2 separate regions of the Homo sapiens genome follow, and region 2 is linked to region 1. Evidence: promoter capture Hi-C in human tissues and cell types (Jung and others, 2019). All regions are on one chromosome and are shown on one strand. Each heading gives the region's core, a stretch centred on a gene start or on the middle of the fragment in contact. The rest is flanking DNA. Distances are from core to core; before and after follow the strand shown. Region 1 holds the start of ZBTB7C (zinc finger and BTB domain containing 7C). Region 2 has its middle 35 kb from the start of ZBTB7C.

What was found. Contacts are between HindIII fragments. The study calls those that stand out against the background at their distance.
Region 2: a contact is called between a fragment that was not itself captured here and the fragment with the promoter of ZBTB7C in region 1, in 3 of the 25 tissues and cell types used here (heart left ventricle, liver and stomach).

The regions. Positions count from the first base shown.
Region 1 is chr18:48,407,854-48,412,255 of GRCh38, reverse strand. It overlaps ZBTB7C (zinc finger and BTB domain containing 7C), which reads left to right and starts at 2,873. Exons shown (of 5, transcript NM_001318841.2): 1 at 2,873-3,030. RefSeq lists a silencer at 1,705-2,084 and enhancers at 3,355-3,972, 3,973-4,402. The HindIII fragment of the contact is 7,054 bases long and covers 1-4,402 here.
Region 2 is chr18:48,441,960-48,446,494 of GRCh38, reverse strand. No RefSeq gene overlaps it. Among named protein-coding and RNA genes, the nearest start is that of ZBTB7C, 35 kb to the right of the region's middle. RefSeq lists an enhancer at 663-957. The HindIII fragment of the contact is 5,648 bases long and covers 11-4,535 here.

The DNA.
Region 1 (4,402 bases), core at 1,624-4,123:
TCAGATAATTTATTTAGAGTTTATCACCATAACTAATATTGACAATTTACAATGTGCTCTACAGTGCTTAATACACAGTAACCCCTTAATGAATGTTGTTCATGGGGCAACACTTGCCCTCGCCTTTTCTCACCCGACCATTCCAGCATCTCTATGGAGTAGAAAGGGACCTACTATTATCTCCCTTTTTACAGATTTGGAAATGGAGGCTTTAGAGAGTTGAATGACATGCTTTTTTTCTAGGATACATGGCTGATAACTGTTAAAGTTTGGCAGTAAATTCTATTAATTATTGCAAAGCAACGTTTACCATTGCACTTACATCCAAACTAGTACGTTGCAAATAAATCTTACAGCACTCACTGGATCTCCATGCTTACGCTATTCCATGAGCTAAAGCTATAGAACATCTACTTTGAGCCAGAGAAGAGAGGAGAAACTTTCTGATTTAGAGCCACATTTATATTAGAGTCTATTTACTATTTACTAGACTCTTTACTATTAGAGTCTAATTTACTGCCCACATCCCTCTTTTCTCAACCTAAATGCCCTTTTTATGGCTGTAGCTGCCCTCACCCCCAGAACTACATTTCTATTTCCTGCAGGTGTCTGGGCATTTGCAGGGCTGGGATCCTCTAGGTGCTCTCTAAATGCATCCGCATGCTTGGCATGAGGCGCAGCCAGACTTATGGCTTAGAAGCGGGGCCATATCAGCTGGGTCAGCAGCATTCCAAGTAACTGAAAACCCTTTAATGAAGGGAAGCAAGACAGGCAACTTAATTTAACAGAGAGACAAACCTAATATGAGAGGGCAGTGGCTGCCACAGCTGCTGAAAGCGAGATATATTATTTTGCCATTCTGGAAGCTTTAGCAACTTGGAAATCTGACATCCTGAGCCTGAACATACCTTAGGTTCCACGATAGACTATCCTAGATTTACATGTGCATTTGAATAGTTTGGATAAGATGGCTGTCCAAACTGTTCATTTGGTGAAATTTACTTAGTAGGAAAAACCAGATCTCTTTGGCAAATTAAACGTGACATAATTGTACCCAAACCCTACGTTTCAGATCCCTCTATTCATATCTAGTTTTCCACTCTTACATCCTATTCCAGAGCCCGTTTTCCCTTGTTTTCACTACTCCCAACGTACTATCTTGCAATGTGCGTTTATTACACGAATGAATGAAATGGTTTAAAAAAAAATCCCAATAAGTGATATTAGGAAGAGGCACCAAAGGTTCACAAACTTATTTTTGTGAATTCTGTAAAAAATGTCATCCAGTGTCTTCAGCATTAAAGGACACAGCAGCAGCCCCACTGCCCTTTTATTAATCCGTAGCCAGAATGGGCACTAGGCGGCCGGGATTCGCCATCTCGCCTCTCCTGGGCGCCAGGTGCGCCTCAGATAAGCGCAGCCGGGTAGGAGTTTGAGGACGACAAACTTTCCCGCTTCTGAGGGAGGAGCCCCGGAGAGGACCCGCTGACGTGCGAGGGTGCTGCCTCCGATGTACTACCAAGGAGGGCGAGGGTTCCTATGTCTGTCTGGAGCGCAGAGGGGTGGACTGCAAAAAGGTAGGAGGCAAAGCCAGCTCGAGTTTCCCCGGCCCGTAGCTGGAGGGAACATCTGCCCAAGTGTCGCCTCGCCCGAGAACGCTCACGCCCTCTCCAGGGCCAGGACCCTTCCTCCTCCCCTCGCACTGGCCCTTCGTGGCTTCCAGCACCGCTGAGCACTCGGCGTCCCAGCGAGATTCTCCTGCCCCGACAGACTCCGAGGGGGCGGGGCCCGGCGGGACGGGGCGGGGACAAGCCCTCCCCGGGCCCGCCCGTTGGCATTGTTGCGCGGTGATTGGACGCTTCGGAAGGCCGCCTTCCAGGCCGACCCGGGGAGTGACGGGCGGCCAGCGGCTGCTCCCCGGCGTGTGGGGTGCGGAGTGCGGGGCCCAAGGCTCCAGAGGGGTGGGGACTCCGGGCCGCAGCGCCGCCGAGCGCGATTGCCCGCTGAGATTCGGCGCCCCGGGGTGCGGCAAGCTTGCGGTTTCAGGTGCTGGCTAGGCGTCTTGGTGCGCTCGCTGGAGTGCCGAGAGCATTTGGGAAACTTAACTTCTCGCCCCCACTCCTTGCTCCCGACTTTCGGGTAGAAAAGCAGTTGCCGAGTTGTTTTATTTCCTCCCCCATCGGACTCTGTAAAAATAGCCGTGCGCCGGGGCGGCAGAGCCCATCTCTGCCGCACCGCTGCCCCGGGTCGGCAGAGCCCATCTCTGCCGCACCGCTGCCCCGGGTCGGGTGTGGACCTAAAAATACCCGGCGGTCCCAAGCCTGCGCTGGGGGTGCGGGCGGGTCCGGCCGGGCCGCAGAGGGCGTCAGGAGACCGGAGAAACGGCGGCCGCCTGGCCCCCTCGCCTCTGCCGGGGCTGTCCCTTTAAATCCTGGAGGAGGCAGAGAGAAAAAAGGAAAGAAAGAGAAAAGACGCGGAGCCCCGAGCGGTTGGTGGCGGTGCCCGGCCCCCCCACTCCGCCTCCGCGTCGGGTCCTGACTCCCGCCCGCAGCCTCCGCCAGTCCCGGGCGCCCCCCGCCGCGCCGCCCACTCGCCACAGTTACTGTCAAAATAGAAATTAGCGGAGCCGGGCGGGGGCTGCGGCGCAGCAAGTGCATGTGCCGCGCGGCGGGGAGGGGGCGGGCGCGAGCGACAGGCGACCGCACACATCCGGGCCCTTTAGCCCTGTGCGCCCCCCGAGCCGGCGGCGCGGGCGCGGGGCGCGGGGCGCGGGGCTGACAGCCGCGGCGCGGGAGGCGGGGCGCGGGGAGGGCGGAGGCGCGGCGCGGGGAGGGAGGAGCTGCCCGCTCGCCCGCTGCCGCCGCTCAGCTCCATACCCGCCGGCGCAGCCCCGCCACGAGACTCTGACAGCGGCGCGGCCGGCGAGGCTCGGGCGCGCAGGGACCGGCGGACACCGGCGGCGAAGGAGGACGCCAGGACTGCGTCCCGGAGCCAAGTGCGGGAGGCGCGCAGGGCCGGCGGCGCGCGGAGGTGAGCGGCTTCGCGCGCCGGGCTCGGGCGCCGGCTGCCGGGGTCGCGATCTCCACAGCACCTCGGCAGCCGAGGCAGTTCGGGAGGTCGCGGGGCGGCGGGCGGGTGGCTTTGCTTGGGCTGCGCCGGAAAGCGATTGCGGGGGCCGTTGCTAGGAGGCCGGCGGTCCGCGCGCCTTGGGGCGCCGGCTGGAGCAGGGGCGCCCTCCGCGCGGTGGGCAGGAGGCGGGGGGCTGCGGTGGCTATTCAGGGGCTCCGTGCGGCAGCCATGCAACGGAGGAGGCGGGAGGAGGGAGGGAGGGAAGGAGGGAGGGGAGAGCCAGCGGAGAGCGAGCCAGCGAGCGGGCGCCGCGCCTCCTGGCTGGCACCGCGGCCCGGAGCGAAGTGGCGCGCGGGGCTGGAAAGGAACTTCTGCGGGCGCGTGCGGCCCGGGGCTCGGCGGCGCCTGCGGGCCCGAGCGGGGCGGGCCCGTCGGCAGCCACAGGTGGTTTCTGCCAAAAGTTTTACCGCACTTCTGCCTGGAAGGCGCGGGAGCGTTTTGGTGAGTGACGTTTTCCTGGGACTTTTGCAGTCTCACTTCGCGCTGTCTTTTCTTGAAAATTGGAAAATGAGCTGGAAAGGCTGGGATCCAGCACCTCTCGATGAGATCTGAGCAGAGTACAGTCCTTGCCCGAGGTGTCGCTCATGCAGGACTCAAAGATCCTTGCTGCTGTCAAGTCGGGAAGCTGGGGGAAATGGGCGCACGCACACAGTTCCTCCAAGCCTCGGACAAGTGAAGCCGAGCCTGGCCCGGTGCCTGTCGCCGCGCGGGGTAGTGCGAGGTCTGTTCCCAGCGACACGCACGGGAACTGCGTGCGTCTTCTCTCAAGGTGTGTACGTCTCTTGCTCCGTTGAAAGCGAATTGTCTCTGGCCGCTGTGCTGCTTTGTTTTTCCGGTTGCTTGTCTGGTTTTACTAGGATGAAGGCCAGGAGGAGCCAAAGAAAAGCGAAGCGGCAGCTCCCGTTATCTTTGCAATCTGCAAAGCTGTGGAGGCTGGTACCCAACCTTCCGCGGCGCGGGCGCAAGGCCGAGGGGAGCTGGGGGTGGGTGGCGTGCGCTGCCTGTATGGGAAGTCTCGCTGGACCATGCGCAAGGCTAGAGCCGGAGTTTCTGGTGCTTCTAGGACAGAAAGAGGAGTGGGAGTGGGAAGGGAAGACCCCTTAAAAGAAGATATACTGTGCCCAGACCTGGGAGAGAGGCTCCGAGAAGTCCGGTGGCTTGGCCCTGTTCTTCATTGGCGGGGTTGAGGAATCCAGGGCAGCGAGGTAGAAACACCTCGGTAGGTCGTCCTGGGCTGAAAGAAATCATTATTCCCAGAGCGGGCCAGATACCC
Region 2 (4,535 bases), core at 1,585-4,084, 34 kb before region 1:
GAAAAAGGTGACTGGGCATGGTGGCTCACGCCTGTAATGCTAGCACTTTGGGAGGCTGAGGCAGGAGGATCCCTTGAGCCCAGGAGTTCAAGACCAGCCTGGGCAACATAGGGAGATCCTGTCTCTATTTAAAGTTTTTTTTTTTTTTTAATTTTGAAAAAATAATTTAAAAAGAAAAAAGAAAAAGGCAAGTCCTCTGTAGATGTGTAAAGACCACAGCTAGAAGTGACTACAGATACTACTTTATTAACCACCATGAGGGTCAACTGACCCAGGCCCCCAAAGTTAATTATCCAAACCCTGGCGACATTGGCTAGTGGTGGTTTTAGCCCAAACATACACATATGTACCCACATCTCCCATGTGTTTATCACACTGAATGAGAATTACCTCCTTATTTACATGGGGACCTGAAGAGCAGGAACCATATCCTGTGAATCTCTGTTCCCAGTTGAACTTTAATGTATGTCAAACATATATAGAACATTTGGTTCCATTTCTCCAGCAAAGCCTGGAAGACAAGAAACATGATGCTTTTGTGGATTCCAAGTAGAGAAAACCTTCCTGTTCTGTGGCCTGGGATTATTTCCAACTAGGCAGGTCCATGATTTTAGGACGGCGGTCAGCAAACTATATACCTAAGCCAAATCTGGTCCGTTGCCTGTTTTTGTAAGTAAAGTTTTATTGGAACACAGCTATGCACATTCATTTACTTACTATCTATGTCTGCTTTTGTGCTACAGCAGCAGGGTTAAGCAGTTGCAACAGAGACCATATTGCCCCACCTACACTGAATGTTTGCTCTCTGGCCCTTTACAGAAACAGTCTGCTGACCCCTGCTGGAGGAGGACACAATAGCAGCCTTGGGATGTGGCTGGCAGGAGAGCTCCTCCTTGCTTCACTGTGGTGATGGTGGGGCCAGCAGAGCCCCCAAGGGATGCTAGCCATGCCTTGGGTGTGCTATGGGTATGTGAAATCTGCTTCGTGGGGACAGCCTTGCTGAGAAGCCAAGGGTCCTGCACAAGTCCTTCCAGTTCTTGATACCCAGCTGCAGTGCTAGAGTACCTGTACCCTAGCACAGCCTGGGAGGGTCTGGACATCTTAGATCAGCTTCATTCTCTCTCTCTCTCTCTTTAAACATTAAAAAAAGAACATTTTATTGAGATATAATCCACACATTTAAAGCATAAACTTCAGTCCCTTATCTCTTAACCTACTTGTCTTGTGACTCTTTTCCCTTTCGTTTCCTTAAGCTACACCTGTATAAACTTGTTCCCTGCAAAGATTTCAGTGAATTTATTCACAATCAGGTGTAAGTGACGAATAATAGTAGGATCCCTAGAATCTCAGGATGACCCATCCCATGTTGTATGCTTTTGTCTCAGGTAGAGTTTTTCCCAAGTACACACTGGGATGGAGTTTGGGGTACAGAAGAAGACATCAAACAGGGAGGCAGACCAAACAAAGCCTTAGCCAGCCTAGCTCTTGCCTAGATGTCCAGGCTTCTGTGCTTGTCCAGACCTCTCTCAGTCACCAGATGCAAGTGCCCCAGGAGAGGAGGCTCCCTGCAGGGGAGGCCAACCCTGAAGAGCTGACCCTGGAGGCTTTCTGCGGACCACACTCCCCACAGCTGGATAGCGAGCCCTTCCCTGAAGGGGATCTAGAAGCTGTGTTTCCATGTGCACCTCACCCTTTTAAAGGATCCCATAACCCAGTGACCCTCCAGCACCCCACTGATAGGAGGACTCTCCCAGGACCAGGGCACCCTCTTTCTACAGAGGCAGCCCATCCCCATTTCACAAGGTGCTGGGCTTCCCTCTGCTGAGCTAAAATCTGCACTCCTAAAATGCAGGAGTGCTAGTCTAGGTTCTGCCCTTTGGAGCTACACAAATCAAAAACCCATTCCCATGATGACTATTGGGAGCATCTCCCAGCCCACTCCCATCCTGATCTCTCCATTCATTCCCCATGTGACATACGTCCGTGATCTCTGTCCAGATCATTGCTGTTTAGTCCAAATCCCTCTGACATATGGTTCCAGCTCTGAATGCAGTTCTCCAGGAGGCCTGCTTAGTGCTGAGACTAAGTCCTTCTTGCTCTGAAGGACACAGTCAAATCACAGTGTTGACTCAACTGAAGTTTACCAAAATCCTCAGCCACCAGCCACTGCTGATCCAAAGAGCCACGGACTGTCCTGCTGTAATTGACTCTCAGACACAAGTAAAGAATTTTGTATTTGTCTCAGTTTTTTTCTAACTTTTAGCCCCTTCCCAAGGGAATTTGCATTTTAACAGAAAAGGATGAATATCTGAGAAGGGATTCCTGGATGGATCAAAAGATGAATTTTCAGCCCTGGGTGTTCCTGCAAACACCCACAGATTAGTGCTTATTAGTGCTTCTTTTTTGTTTTTTTGTTTTTGTTTTTGTTTTTGTTTTTGTTTTGAGACGGAGTCTTGCTCTGTCACCCAGGCTGGAGTGCAGTGGCGTGACCTTGGCTCACTGCAACCTCCACCTCCTGGGTTCATGCCATTCTCCTGCCTCAGCATCCCAAGTAGCTGGGACTACAGGTGCCCACCACCACGCCTGGCTAATTTTTTTGTGTTTTTAGTAGAGATAGGGTTTCATCATGTTAGCCAGGATGGTCTCAATCTCCTGACTTCATGATCTGCCTGCCTCGGCCTCCCGAAGTGCTGGGATTACAGGCATGAGCCACCATGCCTGGCCAGATTAGTGCTTCTTAAACCCGTTTCAGGAGTATGTAGCAGTTCATTACAGGAAGCTCAAACAAGCTTCTTTTAGCAAGAAGCATCCTCCTGGAGGGTCACTTTATCCTAAGATTTGGGGACAAAAATTCCTATATTAAGCAACTCAGTAATAATATAGAAAAGAATGCAAAATATACATGAATTTCTAAGGGAAATTATTGACTTCAAAGACATTTCACACATCTTTTGGGATGCCTTAGGCCCACCCCTGGCCTCCCTGGAGGGGAGCAACATAGTCACTCTCTAGTTACAGAGTACTTGGTGTAGATAATGATGCTCTCCACCCTGGGCCAAAGTGGCCATGCATGGGCCAAGACATACACAAGATAACCAACCAAATAAGAACCAAACCCACACACTCCCTGCCAGTCTAGACAATGCAGTTTTGGAGGTAGAGGGTCCCTCACAGATCAGCTAGTCTGATTTTTTTGTTTTACAAAGATACTAACACCAAGAGCCAGAGAATGGAAATCATTTGCTCAAGATGGGGCAGATTTGTGGTCCCCTGAGTCTGAGTCTCCTTCATGGCATTTACTATGGGTAGTGCCAGGGAGGTGAAATTGGCTGGCTGTGAGGCTGAAACATGGTAGGTAGGCCCCTCGGGTTGCTGTTCCAGGAGATCATGGGGCCATGGGCATAATAGGCACAGGTAGAAGTTTCTGGCAGGAGTAGCTGCTGGAGAATCCACATACTTGATGTGCTGGGCAGCTCCCTGTGGGTTGAGTCAGCCTCAGCCAGCTACTAGGGATTCACCCTGGATCCATTCTCTTACGTGTGAGGCTGACATCAGAACCACTTTCTATGACTCCAAGAGAAAGCCACACTTCTTTCTCAACAGTTATTTCAGACATTGATTTTTTTCTCCCCCTGGTTGTTTCTCATGGAAAACAAGACTGCTTTCCCCCAAGTCCCAAGTGACTGCCTTCTTTGATCCTGCCCCTGGGGCTGTGTGTGTGACACCATCATTTGGCAAACAGTGAGAAAACAAAGAGAAAACCCAGAAGGGTTGGGGTTTCTAAAATCTAGGGCACAGTCCATCCCTTGAGAAGCAGCAAGTAATCTAGCTGAGTGAGAGAAGACCAACATGAATTTGAAAACAGTAAAAAACCATAAAGAAGGAAGGGTGGTTCAGGCTGTGATTGAGAGAATAGCTTAGAGGGGAGGGCTGGATGGGGACAGGAGTGATCAGGGAAACCTCGCTGGAGCTGCCATCTCCTGTCCTAGGTTTTGGGGCACCAGCACAAGAGTACCAGACTTGGAGGTGGGGGTGCACGTTTAAATTTGAGTTCACCCAAACGAATTTTGTAAGGGGGCCCATCTCCAGTTCTTCCTAAGTCCCCTCCCATGTTGTCCTCTATGCCCAGTGATTGTGTAAATCCCTCAGGAAAAGACTATCTCATCAGCATGCATTTTCTCAGATTGGCCCTGCTCTGCTGGCTTTTTCCCTACAGTTGTCTCTGTAGCTTCCCTTAGTCTCAGTTTCCCCATATGCGAACGAAAGAGATTTGTTCCCCTGCTCCTCTCTAAGAAGGTTGTGAAGATAAATGGCATCACAGGCTAGATCAATTCAACTCAAGCCCAGGGAAATATTGCACTGGGAAGCTTCATTCAAACTATTCTCCTCCAGTCTGTCAAGCATCGCTATCGAGACAGCTGGAGGAAGAATTTCAGATGGGGGGCTGGGCAAAGGGGTGGCACCCTTTGTATTCATTCATTCCACAAAAGAAAATATACTTGGATTCCAAGAAATGGAGGGAGCATAGCTCCAGG